Linked DNA regions of Homo sapiens: all the other regions are linked to region 2. Evidence: promoter capture Hi-C in 16 types of primary human blood cells and fetal thymus (Javierre and others, 2016). All regions are on one chromosome and are shown on one strand. Each heading gives the region's core, a stretch centred on a gene start or on the middle of the fragment in contact. The rest is flanking DNA. Distances are from core to core; before and after follow the strand shown.

What was found. Contacts are between HindIII fragments. The CHiCAGO score rates a contact against its expected background, and 5 or more counts as called.
Region 1: a fragment that was not itself captured here is called in contact with the fragment with the promoter of MINDY2-DT in region 2 in 1 of 17 cell types (naive B cells); the score reaches 5.6 in naive B cells.
Region 3: a fragment that was not itself captured here is called in contact with the fragment with the promoter of MINDY2-DT in region 2 in 14 of 17 cell types (total CD4 T cells, endothelial precursors, M2 macrophages and 11 more); the score reaches 14.3 in total CD4 T cells.
Region 4: a fragment that was not itself captured here is called in contact with the fragment with the promoter of MINDY2-DT in region 2 in 1 of 17 cell types (total B cells); the score reaches 6.1 in total B cells.
Region 5: a contact is called between a fragment that was not itself captured here and the fragment with the promoter of MINDY2-DT in region 2, in 12 of 17 cell types (megakaryocytes, M1 macrophages, M0 macrophages and 9 more). The highest score is 15.6, in megakaryocytes.
Region 6: a contact is called between a fragment that was not itself captured here and the fragment with the promoter of MINDY2-DT in region 2, in 14 of 17 cell types (M2 macrophages, M0 macrophages, megakaryocytes and 11 more). The highest score is 17.6, in M2 macrophages.

What each region holds. Positions count from the first base shown.
Region 1 is chr15:59,649,696-59,653,906 of GRCh38, forward strand. GTF2A2 (general transcription factor IIA subunit 2) reads right to left here. Exons shown (of 5, transcript NM_004492.3): 2 at 2,511-2,631; 3 at 974-1,078. The coding sequence starts at 2,582. Among named protein-coding and RNA genes, the nearest start is that of GTF2A2, 5.7 kb to the right of the region's middle. The HindIII fragment of the contact is 605 bases long and covers 2,616-3,220 here.
Region 2 is chr15:58,769,556-58,773,942 of GRCh38, forward strand. It overlaps MINDY2-DT (MINDY2 divergent transcript), which reads right to left and starts at 1,419. Exons shown (of 2, transcript NR_135474.1): 1 at 832-1,419. MINDY2 (MINDY lysine 48 deubiquitinase 2) reads left to right here and starts at 1,747. Exons shown (of 9, transcript NM_001040450.3): 1 at 1,747-2,680. The coding sequence starts at 1,841. RefSeq lists an enhancer at 684-1,609 and a silencer at 1,422-1,701. The HindIII fragment of the contact is 12,290 bases long and covers 1-3,485 here.
Region 3 is chr15:58,251,496-58,256,348 of GRCh38, forward strand. No RefSeq gene overlaps it. Among named protein-coding and RNA genes, the nearest start is that of AQP9, 120 kb to the left of the region's middle. The HindIII fragment of the contact is 2,979 bases long and covers 742-3,720 here.
Region 4 is chr15:59,503,657-59,508,482 of GRCh38, forward strand. FAM81A (family with sequence similarity 81 member A) reads left to right here. Exons shown (of 9, transcript NM_152450.3): 5 at 3,557-3,686. Among named protein-coding and RNA genes, the nearest start is that of FAM81A, 68 kb to the left of the region's middle. The HindIII fragment of the contact is 3,067 bases long and covers 430-3,496 here.
Region 5 is chr15:58,213,010-58,217,661 of GRCh38, forward strand. No RefSeq gene overlaps it. Among named protein-coding and RNA genes, the nearest start is that of AQP9, 77 kb to the left of the region's middle. The HindIII fragment of the contact is 1,507 bases long and covers 1,453-2,959 here.
Region 6 is chr15:58,234,342-58,238,629 of GRCh38, forward strand. All of the region lies in intron 1 of LOC124903499 (a long non-coding RNA gene), which reads left to right. Among named protein-coding and RNA genes, the nearest start is that of AQP9, 98 kb to the left of the region's middle. The HindIII fragment of the contact is 2,190 bases long and covers 735-2,924 here.

The DNA.
Region 1 (4,211 bases), core at 1,668-4,167, 880 kb after region 2:
AATACATGGAGATTTTATCCTTCACTAAAATTTAAGTCAAATGGGGCTTTGTCTATCTTGTTCATCTCTGAGTATCTAGAACATGCCTGGTATGTTATCTTTTCATCTCTGTGTATCTAGAGCATGCCTGGTATGTTAACAGACACTCAAATTGTTTACTGAATGTTTAAGTACCAAATGAAGTAGGCAGATGTTAACTAATGATCAAATTTTGGTTGTAACCATATTTTAACCTTCTTTTGACTATATTTCTACAGGTTATGCCTTATAATACAATATAAACATAAAGTTAGATAAATAATAAGCAAACATCATCATATATTATATGACTCCATCAATACCATAATGTGGTAAAATTATTTCTGTTGCACCATGACTCTTTCAATGGGCACTTAATCTGAAGTTATCAGGAAATTGAGAGAGATAATTTTATTCAGCTTTGGATGACTACTGTTCAAAGTATAAGTGACTGAAGTGAGACCAAGCTACCAGAATAGACTGTTATCTACCATTAGAGATCAGGTTTTTATCAGCCAAGTTACCTAAGAGTCGGAGGGAGGCAACATGAAGTTTCTAGAAATAACTCTACTTCCCTGGAACGGGGAAAGGCCAGACTTTGAAAACCATAACAGAACCTTGGGGATTACTCCGCCACTTACCTTTAATCCTGCAGATAATATTTCAGGTGTTTGGAATCTCAGTAACTCTTCAGGGAAGGTAGCCAAACATACAAAGGCTGATTTGTGAAACAATGAAATAAAAATCTAAAAACATCTCTGTATCTCACATTAAGTGGATCAACTTAGTTTATAGTTGATTGAAAAGTATAATTTAGTTACTATAAAACAAGTTCCAAAAATTGACTAAGCCACCTCTTCCTCTTATGATTAATAAATATGTAGGGGTCCTAAAAAAAAATCAGTGTTTTAACAACCATTGGTACAGGCTTCTAGATTCAGGAAAATATCCTTACCCTGAAATTGACTCTGTTCCTGACCCTCTGAGCCAGTGCTGCATTTATAGCCTTATCAAACTGAAGTAGAACTTGAAGGGCAAGTTGGGGGGTGATCTGTTGAGACTGAGAAAAGGTAAAGGTCATAAATCCCGTTAAGGAAGAACATTAAAGACAAAGTAAATAAAAATATACAAATTATCATCTAAAATTTAACTGAGGTTAACCAAAGCCTCTAAACTAGAATTCCTTTATCTCCTTTGCCATAACTGATGATGAAGCACCAAGCTTGAAGACATCTTTTGTACTATCTTGACACAAACAATCTTGAAGAGAAAACATGCAGTGATGTTACAAAGCCAGAACAAAACTTTGTCAATTTTCCCTTACAGTGGCTGGAAAGGAGAAGATAGACAAAGAGGTGTTTCTTTTAAATACACAGGGCCTATATTAACAAACAAAAAACCTATTAAATTTTATTGAATCTCATAAAATATACCAACAAATGGAAATACTTAATATGTTTTTTTTTTTTTTCCTTTTTTGTGAGACGGAGTTTCGCTCTTGTTCCCCAGGCTGGAGTGCAATGGCGCAATCTTAGCTCACCACAACCTCTGCCTCCCGCATTCAAGCGATTCTCCTGCCTCAGCCTCCCAAGTAGCTGGGATTACAGATGTGTGCCACCACACCCAGCTAATTTTATATTTTTAGTAGAGACAGGGTTTCTCCATGTTGGTCAGGCTGGTCTCTAACTCTTGACCTTGGGTGATCCGCCTGCCTCGGCCTCCCAAAGTGCTGGGATTACAGTCATGAGCCATGGTGCCCAGCTGGAAATACTTAATATGTTTTTATTTGGGAGAATTATACAGAAGGGTTAATTCTCTTAAAATTGAAATATAAATTCAGACTTGTAAATCTCAGAAGACTTAAATTGGACAAAACTATCTTAAAGCTAAAAAGTATATGACTTTCTTCCCTAAATTTGAGAAGGGGGAAACCAACAATCTCAATTTTTATGTTGAACAAAAATTTTTGAAGATTTAACTTTATTTATTTAGAGGCAGGATGTTGCTCTGTCACCAAGGCTGGAGTACAGTGGTACCATCATAGTGCACTTAAGCCTCAAACTCCTGGGTTCAAGCCATCCTCTCACCTCAGCCTCCCGAGTAACTGGGACTATAGGCATGCGCCCACACCGAACTAATTTTTTTATTTTTTGTGGAGATGGGTGGTGCTATGTTGCTTAAGCTGGTCTCAAACTTCTGGCCTCAAGCGATCCTTCCACCTTGTCCTCCTAAAGTGCTGGGATTAGAGGCATGAAACACTGCATGTACCCAGATTTAGCTATATTTAATGATATCATTCAATCATGTTTTGTGTCCTGTTGTCAGGACAGTGTAATAAACAAGAATTTGAGGTAATTTAATCAGTGTTACTGACTTGCTGGGTCAAATAGTCCAAGATATTTTACCTCATATCTCTTTGCCTAAGTGATATGACAAGAATTACTGTAAACCCATCAAGATAAAAATGTTTGATTTTTAATTCAGTCTCCCACCTGTATGAGCTCATCTAGGCTCTCCTGAAGACTGTTTCCCAAAGTAGTATTTCTGTATAACTGATATGCCATGGCTTAGGAGGAAGAATTTGTTTTTCTTATTCAAGCTTGCATTGATGTCCTAAAAATTTAATATAAAATTGTTAAAAAAGATCATACTGTAACATCATAAATTATGTATATAATATCATCTACCTCAAATATTCTAATATAGAACTAGGAGAACGCTTAGTGGTTGCACATTACTAGATAATCATTTTAGAATTACAAGGAATTGCTACAAATGATTTTCCAGTTTTTTTCCCCATGATTTTGACATGGGCATTTATACTCCTTTATGCAGTATAGCTGTTATATTTATTAAAATGTCTTTACCATTTCCTTCAAATGTCTGCCTTCTGACTTAGTCTAGAATTTTCCATGTACTGTCCTTTCTACCTGCTGTCAAGTCACTGGTAAAATCTTCAGCTCATGTTTGCATGTCTGCCCCTTTATTTTCCTGTTCTCTCTAAATTCAGTATTTACAGAGTGCCTACCAAGAGAATGGCACTGTGACAGGTTCCAGAGAGAAGATGATGATTAAAGGCATGCTCCCAATCCTAAAAATTTATACTCTAGAGAATGTAACAAACATACAAAAAGATAAGAACTGGGATAAAGATACAAAGCATACCATGGAGGCTGCCTGTAGAAGTGAGCTGGCTCAGAAAAGCTTCCAGGTTCTTTAAGCTAGACTTTAGCCAAGCAGAGGAGGGAAGTCATTCCAGAGGCTGACAGAATAGAATAAGTAAAGCCATGGAAGGATGAAATGTTTGTGGGGAAAAACATAAACTGTTCTACATTATCAGGGCATAAGTACGAATAGGGAGTGGCAGGAGATGAAGCTGAAAGAGACAGCATAGATGGAGTTGTTTGGCAGGATAGGTGCAAGCAGTGGGGAGTCACTGAAGAATTTTAGGCAGGAAAGGTCAGACAGCTGGGCTTCAGTGCGTGATTTAGAAACAGATGAGGGATGGGGGCTCGAAAAGGGTGGCAGCAGTACACAGTCAATAAATATTTACTGAGCTTCCACTACACGTCAGGTGTAAGATCTTGACCTCATGGCCCTTTCAGTCTGGAGATGGATGGGGGAAAATACATTTGAGGAGCAATCATCAGATAAAACTCAGCAAAAATAATGGCCAGCCATCAGTCCTTACATTTCACACCTTGCTAGCACTGGATTCAACAGATCATTTCTGCCTTCTTGAAACATTTCTTTGGCTTTGAGACAGCATTCTCAGTTCTCATGTCACTGGATACCATTGTATTTTTTATTTTCTTTTGCTGGTTCCTCCTCAGCTCCCTGACTTGTAACTGTTGAACTGCCCTAAGTTTTCTTGGGTCCTCTATTTTCCACATACTTTACTCTCTTAGTTACCTCATCCAGACTTACGGCTTTAAATACCATCTACTATCTGGTGATGACTCTCAAATTTGTATCTCCAGCCCTCAATTCTCCCTTTGTACCCATATATAAAACTGCCTGCTTGACACTGGATAAAAATATCAAGTAGGTAGCTCAAATTCAATTTGTCAAAAACCATGTTTCTGATGCTACTCTTGCAAATATGCTCTGTCCTCAGTCTTACCCACCTCGGTAACAGTAAACATAGTCTTCCTGTAACAGCTCAAAAACCTGAGTCAAGAGTAACTTCTCTT
Region 2 (4,387 bases), core at 169-2,668:
CACGCCTGTAATCCTAGCACTTTGGGGGCCGAGGTGGGCAGATCACGAGGTCAGGAGATCAAGACCATCCTGGCTAACACGGTGAAACCCCGTCTCTACTAAAAATACAAAAAGTTAGCTGGGCGTGGTGGCGGGCGCCTGTAGTCCCAGCTACTCAGGAGGCTGAGGCAGGAGAATGGCGTGAACCCGGGAGGCGGAGCTTGCAGTGAGCCGAGATCGCGCCACTGCACGCCAGCCTGGGCGACAGAGCAAGACTCCGTCTCAAAAACAACAACAACAACAAATTAGCCAGGCATGGTGGCGGGCGCCTATAGTCCCAGCTACTCGGGAGGCTGAGGCAGGAGAATCGCTTGAACCCGGGAGGCGGAGGTTGCAGTGAGCCAAGATCGTGCCACTGCACTCCAGCCTGGGCGACAGAGAGAGACTCCGTTTCAAAAAAAAAAAAAAACAAAAGCAAAAACAAAAACAAAAAAACATATAAGTATGTATTAAAAAATAGCAATAAGAAAAAAAAAGACAGTAAGCTCCATGAAGATATAAGCTCCGTGATCCACTATGGCATCTCCAGTGACAGACAGCATCCAGCAACTTACTTGGTACTAAAATGTATTAAAGGAATGAATGAAATACTACTTTGCAATCTTGTCTGCCTTCTCTAACCAACAGAGGTGCAAAAATATCACATTCTAATTATGTATCAGGTATTTATATGTCTGCGAAGGAAGACCTGTCTCGTTAATTTTTTATCCCCAACAGCCTAGAAAATGTTGAAAGAAAAAAGATGGGGGAAAAAGCCCTTTTCTGTAACAAGTTAGAATAGGACCCACATACATTTTGTTACTAACAAAACGTCCAGCTTGTCTTTCTTCTTTGAAAACTGCATGGCCTTAAGAGGAGTCCATTCTAATTAGGAAAAAAGTCACCTTTTCAGAAGCAGGCGCTTCCCACTCCATGCAAAGTGAAGCCAAGTTAGCAAAACCGCAAAGACTTGGCTAATTCAAATACAAGCTAATTTATTATTATTGGCGCAAATTAGCCACTTTCTTTTGCTACGCATGTCAATGTCCACAATCATACCGACCCTTTCCTGTAGGGCGAATGTCTCACCAGTAGCTGGTGAGAAGCACAGCTCTTCTCAGCCAAAACCGACAGAGACTGGAATTTGTGCAGTGCAGTAATCCAAAGCCGTCGAGTAGATATGCCTGCTTTAAAATCTGCATCTCGTAAGAAATGCCTTAATTTTCCATATTAGGAGCTGAGAAACCAAGTCCCCTGAGCCCTTCAGGGACAAGTTCTTTTCCAAATACTACAACCACCTCCAACCACCCAACAATGCCTCAGGCCGAGGGTGGGCCACACGCGACCCAGCGCTAAAGGGTCACAGCCAAGCTGTCCGCCTCCTGCCTTCCCTTTAAAGAAGCCGCACACAAGGGAGCTGCCCGGGAGTTCAACTTCCGGCCACATAGTGAGAGGATGTTTTCCTACTGGAGCTGAGCCGCGGGGGCGCGCCCCCCGGCCGCGCCCTCCTAGCCACGCCCTCCACGCCCGGCCTTCCGAGAGCGAGCTCGGTCGGACGCACGGAAAGGGCTGGGCCACGTGGGCGGCTGCTGAGTGGTTCGCCTTCGCCTCTCAGCGCGCAGTCAGGCGGAGGCAAGCTCAGAGCGCACGGACAGAGCGGTAGCGCGCGCCCGCGCGCGTTCTTAGTACTCTCCCCGGTGACGTGCCTGACCGAGGCCGCGCCAGGGCGCTGTTGCTGCCAATACAGCTGTCATGGCGTCCAAGGCGCTGGCTGCGGAGAAGTGGCCGCGGTCTCCATAGAGCTGGGGGCGGGCGGCCCGGTATGGAGAGCAGCCCCGAGAGCCTGCAGCCGCTAGAACACGGGGTGGCGGCCGGGCCAGCGTCAGGGACAGGTTCTTCGCAGGAAGGGCTACAGGAGACCAGGCTCGCCGCTGGTGATGGTCCTGGGGTATGGGCGGCGGAGACCAGCGGCGGGAATGGGCTGGGGGCGGCGGCCGCCAGGAGGAGCCTCCCGGACTCGGCTTCTCCCGCGGGCTCTCCTGAGGTTCCCGGACCCTGCAGCTCCTCCGCGGGTTTGGACTTGAAGGACAGTGGTTTGGAGAGTCCTGCTGCCGCCGAGGCGCCTCTGAGAGGGCAGTACAAGGTGACCGCCTCCCCGGAGACAGCCGTGGCCGGAGTGGGTCATGAGTTGGGTACCGCCGGAGACGCGGGAGCCCGCCCGGATCTCGCCGGCACCTGCCAAGCAGAACTGACCGCCGCCGGCTCCGAAGAGCCCAGCAGCGCCGGCGGCCTCAGCAGCAGTTGCAGCGACCCGAGCCCTCCTGGGGAATCTCCGAGCCTGGACTCTCTGGAGTCGTTCTCTAACCTGCATTCTTTTCCCAGTAGCTGCGAGTTCAATAGTGAGGAGGGAGCGGAGAACAGGGTCCCTGAGGAGGAGGAGGGCGCGGCGGTGTTGCCCGGGGCTGTTCCTCTGTGCAAGGAGGAGGAGGGGGAGGAGACCGCTCAGGTGCTGGCGGCCTCCAAGGAACGCTTCCCGGGACAATCTGTGTATCACATCAAGTGGATCCAGTGGAAGGAAGAGAACACACCCATCATCACCCAGAATGAGAACGGACCCTGCCCCTTGCTGGCCATCCTCAATGTTTTGCTCCTGGCCTGGAAGGTACATTCTGCAGCTTTCTACTTCCTACAGCTTTTGGGGTGGAGGAAAACGGGGTGAGGGAGCTGCTGCATGTCAGGTGATGGCTTCCTTTCTTTCCTCATTCATCAGTCCCCTTCTTACATGAAATTCATTCCAAGACTTCCATGTTGAAGGAATATTCCTTTATACATATATCGAAAAGAATTGCCCCTAACCTCAGTCTTCTCTTGTAGTGTTTAAGAGTTCAACATTCAATTGTGGTTGATACACTTAGAAACAAGAAGGACTTAGAGCATCTTAAATCTTATGATTATTTTAAACTATAATTTCCTACATTTTCTTACTGACCTTATCACATATGCAAAAAAGTGAAGAATTGGAGAAAGTAATCTTCAGAAGTTACCATCAATCCGTGATATCATGGACTAAGTTTTCATGGTTATATTTAGTTTGATTTCCAACTAATGCCCCATTTGTGTGTAGATACTTAAGAGAATGGTGATGGGGAAGATGTGGCTCTTTAGACAAATTCCATTTAAGGAAAAGCATTGGTCTGAGACCCAATTACCGTAACTTCTTGGTTTTCAAAGATTGTTTTCATTTTATGCATGATTTTTACTTGCCTCATTTCTTTGGCTCTCCTTAAATGGTTTGGCATTATTACCAGTAACCATGCATCCGAATGTGTTAAGGGAGCTAAAACTCTAAAGAACTAAAATAAGAAAAGGTATGTCTAAGGTGAAGGAGCAAAAAAGGGAAAGACCCTTAAAAATAGGTATGTTGAGGACTCAGAGCGAGTTACCTGTCAAATGAAGTGTCTCATTTAAGCTTGCAGTGTTAGGGTGCTGAGAAGATGCATCTCACAGCACCTATTTTATTTTCAAATTGATAATTATATCTGTAGATGCAATGTTTCCTAGGAAAAAAAAACAAAACAAACTGGGTGTGGTGGTGTGCGCCTGTAATCCCAGCTACTCCGTAAGCTCAGCTACTCTGGAGGCTGACACAAGACAATCGCTTGAGCCCAGAAGTTTGAGACCAGCCTGGGCAATACAGTGAGACCCTATATTAAAAGAAAAAGAAAAATAACCTGGATTCTTCTAAACACTTAGGTAGAAAATCAAGTAAAGGGAATAGTGTTTATCAAACATGCCTTTATCTTCCTGTCGCTAGCAAGGACTGATAGAAAAGAAATAAAATTAGAAACCTTGCCATTGTCTGGTGCATAATGGCACTGAGATGTTTTAAGTGAAGACAGTACCTGCCCTTAAAAGGCTGTCAAGCTGTTTGAGGTGGCATCATTAACTTACTGGAAACTGTTTAAGAACAAGAAATAGTAAGTTATATGAGACAAGTGGTAGGTAAACTGTGGTAAATCTGTGGAAATGCATTTGATATTCAAAAAGGGGACATTTTCCTTTGGTATGGCGTAGTCCTAGAAAACTTCATGGGATTTATGGGTCTTGAACCAATCTTTTTTTTTTTCGTTTGTTTGTTTGTTTTAAAGACAAATTAGAGCAATTTAACAGATCTTTTAAGGAAGAGAATTTAGAATAACAGGGAAATGGAATTCCCAGGGGAGAGAAGAGTATAAACCAAAGGAATGAAAATAGAATGGATATTGTGTGTTTATATGTTTATTACATGACAGAAGTGGTAAGCTAATGTTGGAGAATAATGAAAAATAAGGTTGAAAAGGTGAACAAGAGCCATTTGATAAGGGCCCTC
Region 3 (4,853 bases), core at 981-3,480, 520 kb before region 2:
GCAGCCCAGGTCCACAAGCATCCAGCAAACTCAGAAGGGCTGTATCCCTGCATTCCTTGAGCTTCAAGCAAACGAACGTGCCTGGGACCTGTATAAACACCTAGGCACATGAATGATAGAGACTGGGGAAGAGAGGGGAAGGGGAGAGCCACATTAAACATTAGACATTCCATCCAGCTTGTGCCTCTGTGTATCACTGAGAAGACTCACTGGGATAAAAAAAATGCTCTAAAACATGTCAATGCCAAGATGATTAAAATACCATTCTGTACCTTCAGTGTATGGAAAGGAGAGATAACTGCAACTGGGACACCACGTTTTCAGGAAATAATAGAAAATGAGTAAATAGGGTTACAAAACCCAGAGTCACAGAATGTTAGAACTGGATGTGCCTCTGGAGAACCCCTTTATATTACAGATGGGAACACCGAGTCCTGGTGTGGGAACTGCCAGGTGGGCCAGCAGAGCCCTGCCCCAGACCTCAGAGCTCTGCCCCCAGTCTGGCGAGTATCTCACATCACACTCTGCCCTCGCAAAGCTTTAAAGCAGAAGTGTCCAAGCTTTTGGCTTCCTTGGACCACGACGGAAGAAGAATTGTCTTGGGCCACACATAAAATACACTAATACAAACAATAGCTGATGAGCTAAAAAAAAAAATCACAAAAATAATCTCAAAATGTTTTAAGAAAGTTTCTGGATTTGTGTCGGGGTGCGTGCGGCCCATGTGCCTCACGTTGGACAAGCTTGACTCCATGAAGCAGTATTCCTTCCAAACACCAGCTTTACCTCACACACAGCCTCAGTGGAGCTGTGGATGCAAGAAGAACAGAAGAGAGGTGAGGATTTCTAGTCAGCAGTTGCAGTAGGTGGGGAGAGAGTCCCAAACGTTAATTAAGGAGTCCATCAATCCCAATTCTCCAGCTCACTCACAGAATTTGAAATAAAGAGAGCAAGTGACTAGGGGGGAAGAGACCCCCAAGAAAGGCACTACATGACGAGTTGGAAGGGGTGGGCACATTTGCCTGGTTACCCAGGGATGCTCGCCAAGAAAACCAGACCTTTGAGACACAGGCTGCAGTGGCTGGAAATAGAGCTGGGATTGCAGGGCAGGTGATTCACATCCAGCTCTAAACCTTCCCAGACGCCTTGGCCAAGCATCCCAGGTCTGTCACCATCTGACTGCACCCTGCCCATCCAATTTTATCTTCTCCCAATGTCCTGCCGACAGCACAGGTCCTATCCCTTGTGGATTGGTCTAACCAGCCAATACCCTGGGAGGAGTACTGGTGTCAGCCCAGAAGCCCAGCCCAGGGGCAGTCCTTGATGAGGGAAGAGAAAGAATTTCCAGGGGATGGAGGAGTTGGGGTGACGCTACAGAGACTGGAGGGAAGGAGCCACAGGCCTCTGGAGACTGGCCTGGGCAAGGGCACACCAGTACTCCTGTGCTTTATCCACCCTGCTCCATCAGCATTGTCTCCTCCACACATACTTGCACCCTAGCTGGGATGGTGACATCAACATAGAGGGGGAAGTGGCCTCGCCATCAGCTCTGAGCTCCCTGCCCTCCAGTGACCAAGTAAGTCAAGGCCACCTCAAGAGCAACCCGTCGGCCTGGGTTTTGACAAGAACAGCAGGTGATAAAAAAGGACAAGATGGAAGGATCCAAATGTGTTGTTTTCTCTTCACAAACAGATTATAACAAAGATTACTGGCTTGGGCTGAGTAAGCCCTGAGAGTTATCACCAGAATGTGGGGTTCTAGGAGTGAAAAAAAATGATACTATCTCAATGGCGAGAGATAAAGAGACAAGAGCTTATTTTCTACCCAGACTGGTAACACAGCAGTGACCCTGGAATCTGGGATATAGCTACCCATTGACTTCGGCTTTAACTTTGTTTAAAACCAGCCTGTTAAAAAAAAGTAGAACGAAAGAAGCTCAAGATGTTATCCATGAAAACGACCCACCAGATAGCCCCCTAAACAGTGGGCTTATCAAATTGTCCTCATTTTTCTGAACAGAAGCAGGATGTGCTGGAGACACCAAGAAGAATAATTGCCCTGGCAATCCCTGTAAATCTCCTAAGAGGCTCTTGAAGTTCCTTTTTTTCTATTTATCTTGGTAATGAATTCTCTGAGCCTTTGGCCTGCCAGTTTAGTTATCTTCCCATACCCCTGACAAAAGCATAGCTGCGGGGAAAGACAATATTTTTGTAATCAAATGAGTATCAGTGAGATCCATGCAGCAGCTTCTGACATAGTTTTTAATGACTTGATTCTTCAGCAGCTTCTCCCAGGAGAAAGCCTTTGGGTATAATATGAATATGAAGAAATAGTCTGGATTTATTCAACTCATCATTTTTTAAATAATTGTCCACAGAAACCCTTGAACTTTCTGGCTTTTACTACATAGACAATGGAAAGGGGAAATTTGAAAAATTATTTAGATTTGATCAGTTTCGACTTGCAGTTGGGATCTTCAGGCATAAACACAGGGTTTTGAAAGAGCTTTGTTAGAATCTTTGCTCTGTTGTTTAACCTCTCTCTGTTGCAATTTCCAAGGCTATGAAAGAGAGATTATCATAGTACCTTCCTCATAAAGACATTATGAGAATTACATAAAATAATGACCATAAACATTTAACACAGAGCCAGATCAATAAATGTTAGATTTTCTTTCCTGTAGAAACCAACGGATGATCTCAAATTTCCATTTTATTTCGCTTCTACGGACATGGCCTCTAGATATTCTAAATGTCACATGGGCAGCTGTAACAGTGAACAAACAGCCTCTCTGAGCAAAATGAAGTCAATAGGACCTGCGTATTTATCACATGGAGGAGAAGTTGGCTAAAAGATTGCCGCATTTGTTTCCTAGGGCTACTGCAGCAAATTACCACTGGGCAGCCAAAAAAAAAAAAAAAGCAGAAATTTATTCCCCACAATTGTTGAAAGCTAGATGTTCGAAATGAGGGTGTTAGCAGGGGCAGTTCCTTCTGGAGGCTCTGAGGGAGAACATCTCCTGTGTCTTAGCTTTGGGTGGCCGCCGGTAATCTGTGACATTCCTTGGCTTGGGGCTGCATGAATTGTCTCTGCCTCAGTCTTCACATGGCCTTTCTCTCTGTTCTATGTGTCTTAAATCTTCTCCTTTCTTTTACAAGGACACCAGTCATTGGATTTAAGACCCACCCTAAATCCAGGATGATCTCATTTGAGATCCTTAACTTAATCATAACTACAAAAACCCTATTTCCAAAAAAGGTCACATTCACAGGTATCAGGGGTCAGGAGTTGAACTTACTTTCTGGAGAATGACACTATTCAACCCACTACAATTACTTTGAGTTCTTCAAACAAAATATGTCCCACTACTTAGGAATGAAATGACTTCAAAGCAAGTACTATTCATTTTCCATTTATCTGTAGAAGCCTAAATACACAATTTACAAAGTGTGGATTGTATCAAGGATTCAAGTTTCTTTGGAACCTAGAATCCTTTTAAGTCTCGATAGAAGATGGAGGAAAATAAACTCATCCTGGTAATTTTGATAACTGAATTTCAAATTTCTCAGTTCTAGTTCATGATGCTGTCTTAGGCAGAATAGTGATCTGCCAAAGATGTCCATGTCCTAATCCCTGGACCCTGTGAACATGTTTCCTAACATAGCAAAAGGGTATTAAGGTTGCAAAGAGGATTGCTAATCAGCTGACTTCCAGATAGGAAGCTTACGCTGGAATATTTAGGCAGGCCCCATGTAATCACAGTCATCCTTAAAAGAGGCAGAAGAGGTCAGAGTGATGCCACGTGAGAAGGACTTGTCTCTGGCTCTGAAGATCCAGAAAGGGGCCACAAGCCAAGGCATGCAGGCAGCTTCAAGAATTTGGGAAAGGGAAGGAAATAGTCTCATGCAGAAAGGAGCACAGCCCTGCCAACATCTTGGTTTTAGCCCAGTGTGACCCATGTTGGACTTCTACTTCAGAACTGTAAAATAATAAATTTGTATTAAGGCACCAAATTTGTGGAAATTTGTTATGACGGCAACAGAAAACAAATACACATGCACTCTGAATGAATACAGCGGCCTCTCCTACTTAAACTCCACTGAAAAGATGCTCAAGGGTGGGCAGAAGGAGGCATGAACTCACAAGGACAAAGGACAGAGGAGAGGAGAAAAGAGCAGCAGGTGTGTTGACGTGAGAAGGCAAATGGTCAGGTGGTACCTCACCTAGCTGTCCTGAGACAAGCTAAATCCTAAGCCATCAGTGTGAAGACAAGTAGCAGCCCAATCTGTTCTGCAAAACCCCCAAAAGTTTCAGAAATTAGTGGCACCAGATAGATCTAGAGGTTGGGGCAAACAGGAGGCTATAAACGGCATTGTTTAAGTCTTTTCAAAGAGCAGTTACAGCCCCAGATTCTATATCCCTCATTGACCAGCCAGACGATTGCTGCTCTCCAGCAAAAGACCAGTGGTTTTTGCCGATAAAGGGTGTAACCTACAATCTCTACAGGAAGAACACCAGGCATTGCTGAAGACGGGGGATAGAACTGAAACATAGGATTCAATGGACATTGACACTGTGAATGTCAGATTCCAGCTCTCTTCCTCTCCTCATCTCCCAGACCCAGAGTGGAAGTTTATTTTCTCCAGGAAGAGGATCAGAAACATCTAATCTGGAGACTTAAATCTGACGAGCTTTTCAATGTCCCACTCTGAAAGTGGGACAAGAACCATCACACATTTGAGGAAACTCTCCCTCTGAGACAGGCCCCCCAAAAATTATTGAAAAACAACTTAGAGGAAAGAGACTATGCAGAGAGAAGAAAACTTGAACAACTAAAGTTGTCAGAGTAGCCT
Region 4 (4,826 bases), core at 713-3,212, 730 kb after region 2:
CCGCCTCCCAGGCTCAAGCGATTCTTGTGCCTCAGCCTCCTGAGTAGCTGGGATTACATGCGTGCACCACCACACCCAGCTAATTTTTGTATTTTTAGTAGAGATGGGGTTTTCCCATGTTGGCCGGGCTGGTCTCAAACTCCTGGCCTCAAGTGATCCACCTGCCTCGGCCTCCTAAAGTGCTGGGATTACAGGTGTGAGCCACTGTGCCCAGCCCTAGCCACTGTTGTATTAATAGAAATTTATGTTATAGTACTTGTGTTTCCAAGTGAGACACAGCATTGAAGCCAAGTGATAGCTAGTGAAAGCTTCAGAATACTTTTGAGACTTTTCAAACTACATTTTAAAACACAGTCTGTCCCTCAAACGGCTTTGTAAAGTTGATGAAACTGGTCTGATGTAGTGATACCTGATAGTGTTTATCTAGGAAGCTTATGTTTGGACTGGAAAATAATGTCTTTTAAAAAAACTATTATATTTTTTATTTCATAGTATTTTAAAAACCTCAGCTTTCCCCAAATATGATTTCAATAATATTTTGCTAAAAAATTATGAACTCAAAATAAAAAATCAGGGTCTACATTTGGCATTATTTTTAATCATCATTGACATGGGAATGATTTGTGAGGATTAATGAAATAATATATGTCAAGTATCTAGTACAGTACCTAGTACATAGTAAATATTTCCTTATATTCATTCATTCACAAATATTTATTAAGCCTCTACCATATGCAAGGCAATAAATAAAACTAGGGTTTTAGGTGATGAAAGAGGCATATATAATGTCTCCTTGCATGCAGTTTACATTCTAGAACAGTTGTTGCAAAGTAAGAGTCTATAAGAAAGTTGGAATAATTGAGCTGGTAGCTTACTTTCTTTAGAGTCAATAATAAGTTTACCACAATTTTATCCATTTACTCACTATTGTTTTTTGCACCCTACTCCTTCTTTGTGGGTGTTCTTTTCTCTTTACTGAAGTACATTCATTAGTAACTTTTTCAGTATTGGCTTGTGGGTGATATTTTTCTAATCTTTGCATGTTAGAAAAAGTCTTTATTTTGTACTTATTCTTGGATGATAGGTTATTTACCCTCAATACTTAGAAGATGTTTCTCCATTATCTTCTGATATCTGTTGTCTCCTATATCTATTGTGGGCTGTCAGTCTTATTGTCAGTTTTTGGTAGCTTTGGGTAGGTTACTTCTCTTTAGTCTGTAGCTTTTAAGATTTTATATTTATCATTGGTTATCTGAATTTCCCCATGCTTTATGTATTTTTACTTATCCCAGTTTGTAGTCATTGAACATCTTAAAATTCATGTCTTTCTTCAATTTTAGAAAATTGTTGGCATTCACACCTCAAATATTGCTTCTTTGCCATTATCTCTATTTCCTTCTGTTGGAACTCCTCCTTGACTTATGTTAACATCCCTCTATTTGACTTCCATGTTTCTTAACTATTTTTTCATGTTTTTAATCTCTGTCCACTACATTCTGAGTGAGTTCCTTGCTACTATCATTGAAGCCACTGATTCTATCTTCAACTATGTCTAGTCTAGAATTAAGACAAGGGCTGGGCGCGGTGGCACACATCTGTAATCCCAGCACTTTGGGAGGCTGAGGCGGGTGGATTGCCTGAGGTCAGGAGTTTGAGACCAGCCCGGCCAACATGGTGAAACCTCATGTTTACTAAAAATACAAAAATTAGCCAGGCATGGTGATGTGTACCTGTAATCCCAGCTACTCAGGAGGCTGAGGCAGGAGAACGGCTTGAACCCAGGAGGCAGAGGTTGCAGTGAGCCGAGATCACGCCACTGCACTCCAGCCTGGGTGACAGAGTTAGACTCTGTCTCGAAAAAAAAAAAAAAATCACAGAAAGGCGTCATTGATCATCTTAGCCACCTATAGCATGGAAGTAAGTGATTTGCTGGATGGTGTCTGCCTGGAAGTGGATGTACACCTCACATCTGCAGTTCACCCCTGTGTCTGCCCACCACTGACAGGGGAGAATAAAGGGTTCTCCTCTTCTACCTTCTGAGTCTTGTATAAATGACTCTCACTGTCAGAATCTAACTCCGAACCCTTCTGGCAATGACGTCTGGGAAGTATAGTTTGGGGCTTCAGTCCCTACGAGACAAAGAGCATTTACAAGGAGCAAAAATGTTGTGTCACTTAAGAATGATCCATTTATGTAAACTCTTTTCCTTGTCACTAATCCTCCAGTTTTTTTCCTAAGTCTCTAACCATTAGCCACTTTCCTTGAATGTCTGGCCATCTCTTATTCCAGGCAAAATGAATCTCCCAATATATTGTTAGAAATTCTGTCTTCCTAACAATCTTTAGGGCTACTCCTAAGTGGACTTAGAAGCATCAGCAGTCTTATTCCAGAAGGTGTCAGCATACTGGGTGTGACCATCTGTAAGCCAGGCCTGACTTTCTCCCTCAGTCCACCTGGTCATCAAGAACTCTTCTAGAAGCCACAGATTTTTTTGTTTGTTTGTTTTGTTTTGTTTTGTATTATCGTTTTATCTTTTTGTAGACACAGGGTCTTGCTATGTTGCCCAGGCTGGCCTTGAACTCCTGGGCTCAAGCAATTCTCCTGCCTCAACCTCAGCCTCCCAAGCAGCAGGAGGGAGAAGATGAAGAAGTCATAGGCATGGATTGAAGGAGAGTTGGTGCAGTAGCAGGAATAGATGCCATGGTGGGAGTCTGTGCTCTTGTAACTTACTTGTGCCTTTTGAACCTGCTTGAACCCTTCCCCTTGAAGATGGAGTGCTGTTCTAGGCCCACCTTCTAGTGTGGTATTCATGATGGATTGCTCCGATTGCAGAGTCACCTAATGGCATTCTGTCTCTACTGAGCCCAGTAGCAAGCCAGCAGCTTCTTCTCAACAGAGGAATATTGTCTCAGAACAGAGCATTAGTTAGCTCTAAACTCTTATGGGTCCATTCTGTGACTCTCCTATTAGGACTCGACAGAGGCCCCACACAGCTCATCTGCCACACATACTTTGAGTACCATTGGATCTGCCAAGTTGCAAGGCCCACAGGGCAGCAGCTTTTACTACAGCTTGAACTGGCTGCAAAGCCTTCCCCTGCTCTACACCCTACTCATACTATACAGCCTTACGAGTGATTCAGTCAAAGTTTAGAAGTAATATTTTCTAACATGGTAGAAGTTTCCTCCCAAATCCAAGGAGGCCCCCAACTTCGAAAGGCAGGGGTGGTACTGAAGAGTGACAGACCACATCCAGCACACTAGCTATGCTCTTTGTATTGGCCTCTCGCTGCACATACAGTGTTGTACTCATGATCGTTGGAAAGACTTTATTTCTTTGGTGGTTACATCTCTAGCCTTATTAAGCAACATCCCTGTGGTTTACCTTAAAAACCATAATGAGGCCAGCTCTTGGAATTCATTTGAACCTCTGTTCAAAAGAATGATGGATAGTGCACTTTCTTTGAGTGGGTTTTGCATTTCAGAGTGTATAAGGAAGCTTTTGCGCATTGTTTTTAAACTTTAATAAGAATCAGCTTTGTTCTTTGTCTGGACAGATGTGATGCCAGCATAGCTAGACTTTCTGCAGAGCACAAAACGACCTATGAGGGGCTCCAGCACTTGAACAAAGAACAGCAGGCTGCCAAACTTATCTTGGAAACGAAAATCAAAGATGCAGAGGGACAGGTACGACCTGTTTCAGGTAGCTTTTAGAAGCGGGTAATTTGTTCTTAGCTAAGAATAACATGGTGTTGATTATTTCTTACAGGAGAAACCAGCTGGGGCATCTAGCATGGGTTTATGCCAATCATAAGCATCTTTTCTTTGATTCTTCCTTTCCTATTTCACTAGAGTGGCCCTTCATGTGTCTGGCAACCAAACCACCAAAATTGTTTGGTATAGTCCTAATTCTACTCCCCACCACCACATTCCTAGAACAACTAATACATTCCAGAAATTCTAAATGACACCTTGAAAGCTATCTCTTGCACAAGTAAGTGATCAAGCATCCTTTACATGCCACTCGTCCCAATTTTTGATTCAGGAAATAATGTATTCCCTGGGACTCATTGTATGTACTACCTCATCACATAGTCTGTATGTGGGACAAAATTAGGCAAAGCTAGAGCATAGGCAGGCTAATGAATATGAGAGTATTTGACCTCAAACGTCACAGATTAATTTCACAAAGCAAAACTTTTGGCATTTCAGTTTGTTTTTTGGCCACTTAAAAGTTTCCCTTTGCCATCATAGGGCGTGTCTTCTAGGACTTTTTCTACAATATCTGCCTTATTTGCTATTGTTCGTTTAAAGAGACTATTCCAGTAAAATAGGAGCATCTGGTTAACTTACTGGATTAAATACATTTATACCTTAATCATCTCCAATAAGAATATAAAGCTACTTATGTGAAAAATACAGATATTATAAAACTATGAAAAAGAATAAAAAGACAATCCAATAATAATTTCTTTTTTGAAGAATGAGTGAGAATGGAATTACTACACCAGAGAAGAGATGTTAAGGAAATCATAAGCTTCTTTATAGCCAGGCCAAGTCAAATATGTACAGATATCCATCAAAAGAGACATTCTTTCTCTTTCTTCTGGATCTGACAAATACCATGAATCTTTAAGTAAGGAACATGGAACATTCTAATTTTTGCAGAAAAGGCAGAAATTTCACACAGGACTGGTTTTTGTTAAATTGCAGTAAAGACAAGGGACATGGGTAGGTGGTGTGAGAAAGGAACAGGAGGGAGATAGTCTACAAGTTATATTGACTGGTGACCTGACTTGTTATGGAGGTAAATCTGAGACCTTGATG
Region 5 (4,652 bases), core at 956-3,455, 560 kb before region 2:
AGGTGACCAGGAGTCCACCATGACCTTGTACAGCGCAAGCCCTTGATAAATGATTCAATTAAATTCAAAAGGGCTTGGGCAGCAAAAAGTGTCCTCTTGCTCCATGCCCAGCAGAGGGAGCAGAAGAAAAGGAACAAATCCTTTCTCAGCTATGTACTAAACACAAAGGAAGACAGAAGGCTGAGGGCTTCTAGAGGTCTCCTTATCCACCCACCCCTCTCCCCTCATTTTGTACATTGTGAAACTGAGACCAAGAGAGGAAAGGGGATTTCTCAACGTTACCAACCAATAAGCGGTAAGACCCTCAGAAAGACAAGCCATGTTTTCAGGCCCAGGTCTGGGGCCTTTGACCCATGGTTGTTCAATGCTATCATGTTGATTTCTTTCTTTTCAAGGAAATCAGCCGTGGGTAACCGCAACCTCACCATTCTCTTTTGCCCCAGTTCTCTGAGGGCTTTGGATTTGAATTCGGCTCTGCTGCTAACTTGGGCAAGTTCCATAGCCTCTCCAAGATTCAGAGACATATTTTTTAAGTAATTATAATAATTTTATTTATCGTAAAATTTGGAAGGAATAAATAAAATGATGTAATGTAAAACTCCTTGTAAGGCATCCTGAGTGCATGAGTTGCCATAATAGATGTAAATACCTATCCTTGTCAAAAAAGAAATCGTTTCACCAAAATGAATTGAAACTCTATGACACAGGTCTCAAACTCAGAGGCTGCTGGGAGCCAGCCATTTAAATAAAGCCGTCTGGATATACAACAGGGACTTCTAAGGGTGGCAGCAAACTGCAGAGCTCACAGCCATGGGAGATAAGCAACGTTTAACAGGAGAAAATTCAAGCCCAGGGTTGCCAGATCTTCCCAGAGAAGTTGGAAATCAGGGATTTCATGTGCAAATTTCTTATTTTTAAAAATATTATACAGATGAAATAAAACCCAGGCCAGCAGCTTGTTATGCCTGCTTTTAAAAAGCTAATTTTAGAGTTCCATATGCAGAGACACACACCATACTACAAATGAGAAACTCAGCCCCATAAATTCAGGAGAAGAGATGATGTCTGTCATTTGGAGGGAATGTGCCAATAATATCAACCCACAGACTTGTTTTTCTAAAAGGCCCTTACTCAGCAAATACATTGAACCTCTGGGGCTTATGTTGCAATCTCTGGAATATCCTCCAACTTTCCTTGATGACTTTTGATTTCCTGCCCGTTCCGTGCCTAGTACCATTTAAGTTGCTGTAGTCTTCCAGCTTGACTGTAAATTATACATTCCACATTGATATGCTTTTTCTCTAAAAGGTAGAAAATAACATTTTACAATTTTATATATAACATTCATTTTTATTTAACAGCTACCTTCATTAGATATTCACTGAAAAGAGGTCCATTATAAGCAACAGCTAGATGGGGGACAGGGCTGACTGTCTAGAATTTTTTATACCAAGCTTTCCAACACACATTAAGAATAAAAATCCTTTTGTTCCAGTCAAAGAAGGAAAATAAACTGTAGGTACATCAGAAAAGGAAAAAGAAAATGCAATGTTAAATGAAAACACAAAAAGGGGGTGGGGGAAGGACGGATTCGGAGAAAAAAAGCAGAAAAGTTAAATCCAACCTTGAGGATTTCTCGGTTATTTTTACTTCTCTACCTAGGAAGGCTTAAGCCCCTTAATTTATGCTTGATTTCCATTGAGCATCTCCACCACTAGTTCCCTTTCTTTGAGGGGAAAAGGACCCAATAGGAAACACGCTTACTTTTCATTGTTTAACTACCTTGCAAAATGTTCTCGTGCAAACTCAGCATGGTGGTTTAATTTATAGGTTGGTGTGTTTAAAGCTACCCTTTTGCAGAAGGCACTACCCCGTTGGAGATTGGAGAAGTTACTGCCCGGAGTATAACCTTTCATTTGAAACTAAGGTTTCCAATTAGCATGGCCAAGATATGATTGTGTTGAGTTACTGTTGTTGTGATTGTTTTCAATAATTCCAGGAAGCCTTTTAAAAATCAGCCCGAGAATATTAAGGAACATGACTGATGGAGTGACATGGCCAGGTCAGTGAGGGTGGTGCTGTGTTAAAGAAACAGTGAGACAGTGTAGCCCAGGAAGTCGAGGTGGGAGATGGAGTGAGAGGGAGCGTGAGAGCGCAGGGCTTCCTGTAGTCCCCAAGCTCAGGCCTAATGAGAAGGAGCAACCATGATCCTGAGGAGAGTATCAGGGATCAATCAACTTCAGGCCCCTGCCTCCCCCAGTCCTTCAGATAGGGAAAAGCCAGTGTGGCATGAGAAGGAAATAAAAACTGAGGTTAATTTTCATGAGAGCAAAGAGCAGTGAATATAACACCAGAGGCTGCGCTCTGTTATGTTCTAACTCTGTGGCCTTGAGTAAGCTCTATAATCTCTTTGAATTTTAATTTTACAATTCATAAAATGAAAAATTTATAAGATAAAAACCCAAGGACTCTCCTGTGTCTTATGTTATATAGCCAGGCATTTTCCCTCAACTTTTTATTTTGAAAAATTTCAAGTCTATAGAAAAGATAAAGGAATTCAGCTAACAATATGCCTTTCTCCTAGATTCACCAAGTTTTAACATTTTACCTTATTTGCTTCCTCCTTTGTCTCTGTTGCTGACTATCTATCAGTCTATCAATCTATCCATCTACCTATCTACCTACCTACCTATCTATCTACCTACAGAGGAAATACAGGAGGAATAAAATATATATATTATTATTTGTTAAATTACTTAGAGTACGTTGCAGACATTCATGGCATTTAGTCACTACTTCACCACGCATTGCCTAAGAATAAGGAGGTTCTTCTATGTAACCACAATATCATAATCACATCTAAGAAAATGACAATGATTCCATATGACCTAATATTCAGTTCATATTTATATTTCTAAAATTATGCCAAATTCTTGCACTTGTGTTTTTAGCCTTTTAAAGCTTTTATTGTTTTAAAATATTAAAAAAGATACTTTTTCTTTTTTAAAAATTTATTTACGTTGACTTTTTAAAGGAGTCCAGTTATTTCATAGAATGTTCCACACATTCTAGATGAAGCTGATTGTTTCCTCTTGGTGTTTGTTTTGTAATCTGTTCCTCTATCCCTATATTTTCTGTGCCCTGAAAATTAGGTCTGGCAAGTTGATTAGATTCAAGTTAAACATCTCTGGCAAGAACACTGCATTGTCCATTTTGTTACTTAATGTTGAATCATACTAGGGTAGCCACTTAATGTCATAAGAGCGTCCCAGTATAAGTGATGCTAAGTTTGATCCCTTGGTTAAGGTGGTGATGGCCAGAGGTCTCCACAGAGTAAAAGTACATTTTCCCCTCCTTTATCATCAGTAGTCTGTGAGGTAGTACTTTGGTACCATATGAACTGACTTTTCTCCAAAATGTCACCCAACTGTTTTAGTAACAATTAAAGATCCTTACCTGAGTCCATCATTGTATTAGGACTGTATCCTTCTTCCCATATTTATTAGCTAACATTCTTCTGTAAAGATGAGCTTTCCTTTTATTCTGTTTCTTCTCTACTTTCACTCTCTCTCTCTCTCTCTGTCTGTCTCTCTCTCTTTCTCCCTCTCTCTCTACATCATATTACCATGGTCTCATACATTTCTTTTTTATTTAATGTGTTAAAGTTGCTTACTTTGTTTTTTTAATGTTCAAACTGTCCCAAATTTGGCTAAAGGGAGGCCCTTCAAAATGAATCCTGTATCCTTCTTATAAGAATGTATTAGGCCGGGCGCGGTGGCTCATGCCTACAATCCCAGCATTTTGGGAGGCCGAGGCAGGCGGATCACAAGGTCAGGAGATCGAGACAATCCTGGCTAACACGGTGAAACCCCGTCTCTACTAAAAATACAAAAAATTAGCCGGGTGTGGTGGCGGGCGCCTGTAGTCCCAGCTACTCAGGAGGCCGAGTTGGGAGAATGGCGTGAACCCAGGAGGCGGAGCTTGCAGTGAGCCGAGATCACGCCACTGCACTTGAGCCTGGGTGACAGAGTGAGACTCTGTCTCAAAAAAAAAAAAAAAAAAAAAAAAAGAAGAACATATTAGTTTTTGAGTTTCTCCTTGATTTCTGGCACCATAAAACGTTTCTGATTCATTTTATATTTTTTTTCTCAGATCTGGATTAAGCCATTTGTATTAGTCTGTTCTTGAATTTCTATAAAGAAATACCTGAGACCTGGTAATTTATAAAGAAAAGAGGTTTAATTGGCTCACGGTTCCACAGGTTTTACAGGAAGCATGGTACTGGCATCTGCCCAGCCTCAGGAAACTTATAAACATGGCAGAAGCAGAAGGGGGAGCAGGCACTTCGCACAGGTGGAGCAGGAGAGAGAGAGAGGGAGGAGGTGCCACACGCTTTCAAACAACCAGATCTCACAAGAATTCACTACCACAAGAACAGCACCAGGGGGATGGCGCTAAAACATTCATGAGAAATCCACCCCCATGATCCAATCACCTCTCACCATGTCCCACCTCCAAAGCAGGGCATTACAATTTGACATGAGATTTGGGTGGGGTCACAGATCCAAACCACATCACCATTCTCCAAGGAGTCCTGTTCCTTTGCAATGGAGAGTAGTATTTACAACAAGATCTAGACAGTAAGTACGTTC
Region 6 (4,288 bases), core at 580-3,079, 530 kb before region 2:
TCAGAAATGTGGCTTTAAGCAAACAATTATACGAAATATAATCTGTTGTAACTACTAATTTATCTCTGTGACTTTGGCCAAATCACCTCACTTCTCATAGTTTCCTTGTCTATGAAGTAAGAGATTAAATCTCGATGATCCTAAATCTTCCATCTCCACTGTTCTGTGATTTATATTTGGATCTTAAGGCTGAGTTGGCAAAGGTCTATAGGAATAATCATAAAGGAAGTGATGCCATCTATTCTATGATTAAGGAAAATAATTTACTGAAGATTCATATTGGGTTCTGTTCACTTTAAAAAGAAATGTAGGCTGGGCATGCTGGCTCATGCCTGTAATGCCAGCACTTTGGGAGGACAAGGCGGGTGGATCACCTGAGGTCAGGAATTCGAGACAAGCCTGCCCAACTAGGTGAGACCCTGTCTCTACTAAAAATACAAAAATTAGCTGGGTGTTAGGGCACATGCCTATAATCCCAGCTACTCGGGAGGGTGAAGCAGGAGAATTGCTTGAACCTGGGAAGTGGAGGTTGCAGTGAGCCGAGATTGTGCCACTGCACTCCAGAGACTCGGTCTCCATAAAAAAAAAAAAAAAGAAACAAAGAAAGAAAAGAAATGTGAAACTCTCCATCCGAAACTTAAAAGGATCAATGGTCCAGAGCTGAATCAAGCTAATAGGAAGCCTAAATGGAGAGCAGAAGCTTCCAAAGTCATTGAATTAGTCAGTCCTGATCAAGCTTCTTTTATGAACTTTTTTATGAGAGGGATATTCAAATCCAGATTAAAATAATGGCTCCAGTGACCTTGTAACCCAAAGAAGGGAGTTTGGTTTTAAATTGCCTAAACTCTTAGGTGAGATAAAAGGTAACTGGAGATAGACAAAGGCAGAGGCTTCCATTAGATGGGCCCAAACGACAAAAGAATAAAATAAGAGCCCAAAGATGCCCAGCCATCCCTAATTAAGGAAAAAGGATACTGCGCTGTTACAGGCAAAAGCATTTTTCCTTTCTTCCAAGGTACAGAACACCAAATTGTGTGAACTAATCCACTTGCCAAGTGGATCTTAGGACCAAAAGAGAAATGATGGTATGCATTTATAATTACTAACAGGTAAATTACAAATGGCAGGTTTAATATACCTTCTAGAGTTAGGGAGAAAAATCTTATTAGATATATGAGAGCCCAGGGTCATGTCACTAAGTAGATTAGACTTGATGGAACCTGCTGATTATGTCCCAGCAAGATACAGCGGGATCCAGGGAGGTCAGTTCTTTGAAGTATTAATAGCCTGTAAGTCTTCCACAAATATAAGAGATTAAGCAAATATGGTCAATCTCAAAGTAGCACCCAAATACACACAAACACACACACACACACACACGTTCTGAGAAACAGAAGGTAAACAATGCCAAGAAAGGAGAAATCACTAGGGATTCCCAGTCCTTTCCTATAAGTGAATTGACTTTTTAAAATATAGATAACTCCATCCCCACTAACAAACTCATTATTGTCTTATGGCATTGCTTCCTTCACTGAGGGGCATGGAGACAAAATAATAAAGGTATTTCTGGTGATGAAATGTTTTCCACCATTTATGTATTCAATACACATTGATTGAATAATAGAGAATATATACTGAACCCTCCCACTGTGCCTGGGACGTCATTCAGGGCCTTCCATATATTGTCTCATCTTATCCATATAACATCCCTGTCTGGGATTATACATTGATAATCTGAGGGGGGCCTGGAAATATTCATGAAAAGGGGGCAGGCATTTAAAGTTGTGTAATAGGGTGAGTAATTACAAATAAAGACTACTTCATATTAGTCATGATGTTCAAAATATTTAAACACTGATATAGTTTGGATCTGTGTCCCCACCAAATCTCATGTCGAATTGTAATCTCCAGTGTTTGAAGTGGGACCTGGTGGGAGGTGACTGGATCACAGGGGTGGAGTTCTCATGAATGTTTTTGCACCATTACCCCAGAGCTGTCTAAGTGAGTGCGTGAGTTACCACGCGATCTGGTTGTTTAAAAGTGTGTAGCACCTCACTCCTCCTCTCTTCCTCCTGCTCCAGCCTTGTAAGACATGCCTGCTTCCCTTTCGTCTTCGGCCATGATTTTAACTTTCCTGAGGCCTCCCCAGAAGCAGAAGCCACTATGCTTCTGGTACGGCCTGTAGAACCATGAGCCAGTGAAACCTCTTTTCTTTATAAGTTACCCAGTCTCAGGTATTTCTTTATAGCAGTGGATAACATGAGCACTGACCAATCCATAAACAGGTGCCAGCCTCAGTCCTAGCAGGTCATCCCAGCATATCTGTTCAACCCAGAATTAGCATCTTTGCCCCTCTCCCATCCAGGAAAGAGAGCCCGGCACTGTGGAACAAAACAGATTTTATATTCTGGGCCCACTGAAGAGGACTCGCCTCTTCAACTTCAGTAGAGGTCTAGAAGTTTGATGGGCTACCTGGGCCCCTGGTGGGCTGCCTGTCAGAGAAACTCAAGGAAGACACCCTGTTCAAAAGACCTATTATAAACTTGCCTACAGATTTTTCAAGTTGAGTAGTAAGCAGAATTCAGAGGCTCCTTCATCTCCCTGGCCTTAGAGGCCTGTGTGCCCACCAAAGAAGTTGTGAATGTCTACCAGAAGTTGGTCTTGGTACGTGATGTTTCTGGTGTGTGTGTGTGTGTGTGTGTGTGTGTGTGTGTGTGAATGGGTAAGTGGGTGGAGGGTGGGGGAGTGGAAGAAGTTCTCCACAAGCTCAAAAATATCTTTGAAGTCTCAAATTTTATCTTTAAAAGTCAGGCTAAATTTCAATTCTTCCCCATAATAGATCACTCCTTATTTTAATACAATAATTCCCTCCCAAAACATTGAGTAAATCTATGCTCCACAGTGAGGCTCCATGATTATCTAAAAGCTTAGGGAACCCCAACTCAGATGCACAACTGGTACCCCAAGTGTACTTGTGCTGGGGATAGGCCCCCAAATCTGGCCATAAACTGGCCCCAAAACTGGCCATAAACAAAATCTCTGCAGCACTGTGACATGTTCGTGACGGCCATGACACCCACACTGAAGGTTGTGCGTTTACCGGAATGAGGGCAAGGAACACCTGGCCCACCCACGGCGGAAAACCGCTTAAAGGCATGCCTAAGCCACAAACAACAGCATGAGCGATCTGTGCCTTAAGCACATGTTCCTGTTGCAGATAACCAGCCAGACCCATCCCTTTGTTTCGGGCCATCCCTTTGTTTCCTGTAAGAAATACTTTTAGTTAATCTAGACTGGGTGTGGTGGCTCACACCTGTAATCCCAGCACTTTCGGAGGCCGAGGCGGGTGGATCACAAGGTCAGGAGATGGAGACCATCCTGGCTAACATGGTGAAACCCCGTATCTACTAAAAATACAAAAAATTTTCTGGGCGTGGTGGTGGGCACCTGTAGTCCCAGCTACCTGGGAGGCTGAAGCAGGAGAATGGTGTGAACCCGGGAGGCGGAGCTTGCAGTGAGCCGAGATCACGCCACTGCACTCCAGTCTGGGCGACAGAGCGAGACTCCGTTTCAAAAAAAAAAAAAAGAAAGAAATACTTTTAGTTAATCTATAATCTATAGAAACAATGTTTATCATTGGCTTGCTGTCAATAAATATGTGGGTAAATCTCTGTTCGGGGCTTTCAGCTCTGAAGGCTGTGAGTCCCCTATTTCCCACTCCACACGCTGTATTTCTGTGTGTGTCCTTAATTCCTCTAGCGCCGCTGGGTTAGGGTCTCCCCGACCGAGCTGCTCTCGGCAACTTGTCCCCCAAACGAGAAGCAGGACTGGTGGAAAGAGCACTGTGTGAGGAGTGAGGCTGTGCCCTGCGTGCTCACAGCACCTGGGGAGCCGAGGAGGCTCAGCACATGTCAGATGAGAAAATGAATGAATGAATGAATGAACGAACGAACAAACAAAGAGCTGGTGACTCCTAGTGGAATACCAGTTTCTAGGAGTCCTACTTATGTCCGTCCTGGCCTGCAGCATGTGAGCCATTTTGCTCACACTCATGGCACAAGCCAAACACGTATACTCAGGACAGACTTTCAGGACAGACCCCGAAGATACAAAAGGACAAACCTAGCAGGAATAATTGATCACTTGGGAAAAAGGAACCTGAACCCAGGAGACAAAGCAACTGACAAGAGGGGAATTCTATATGTAAAACTATTAGACATGGGTGTTAAACATCCCCACTGTCTGTGGCAGGAGAATAAATCATGTTGCCAGCAGCAATTTGCAGGCA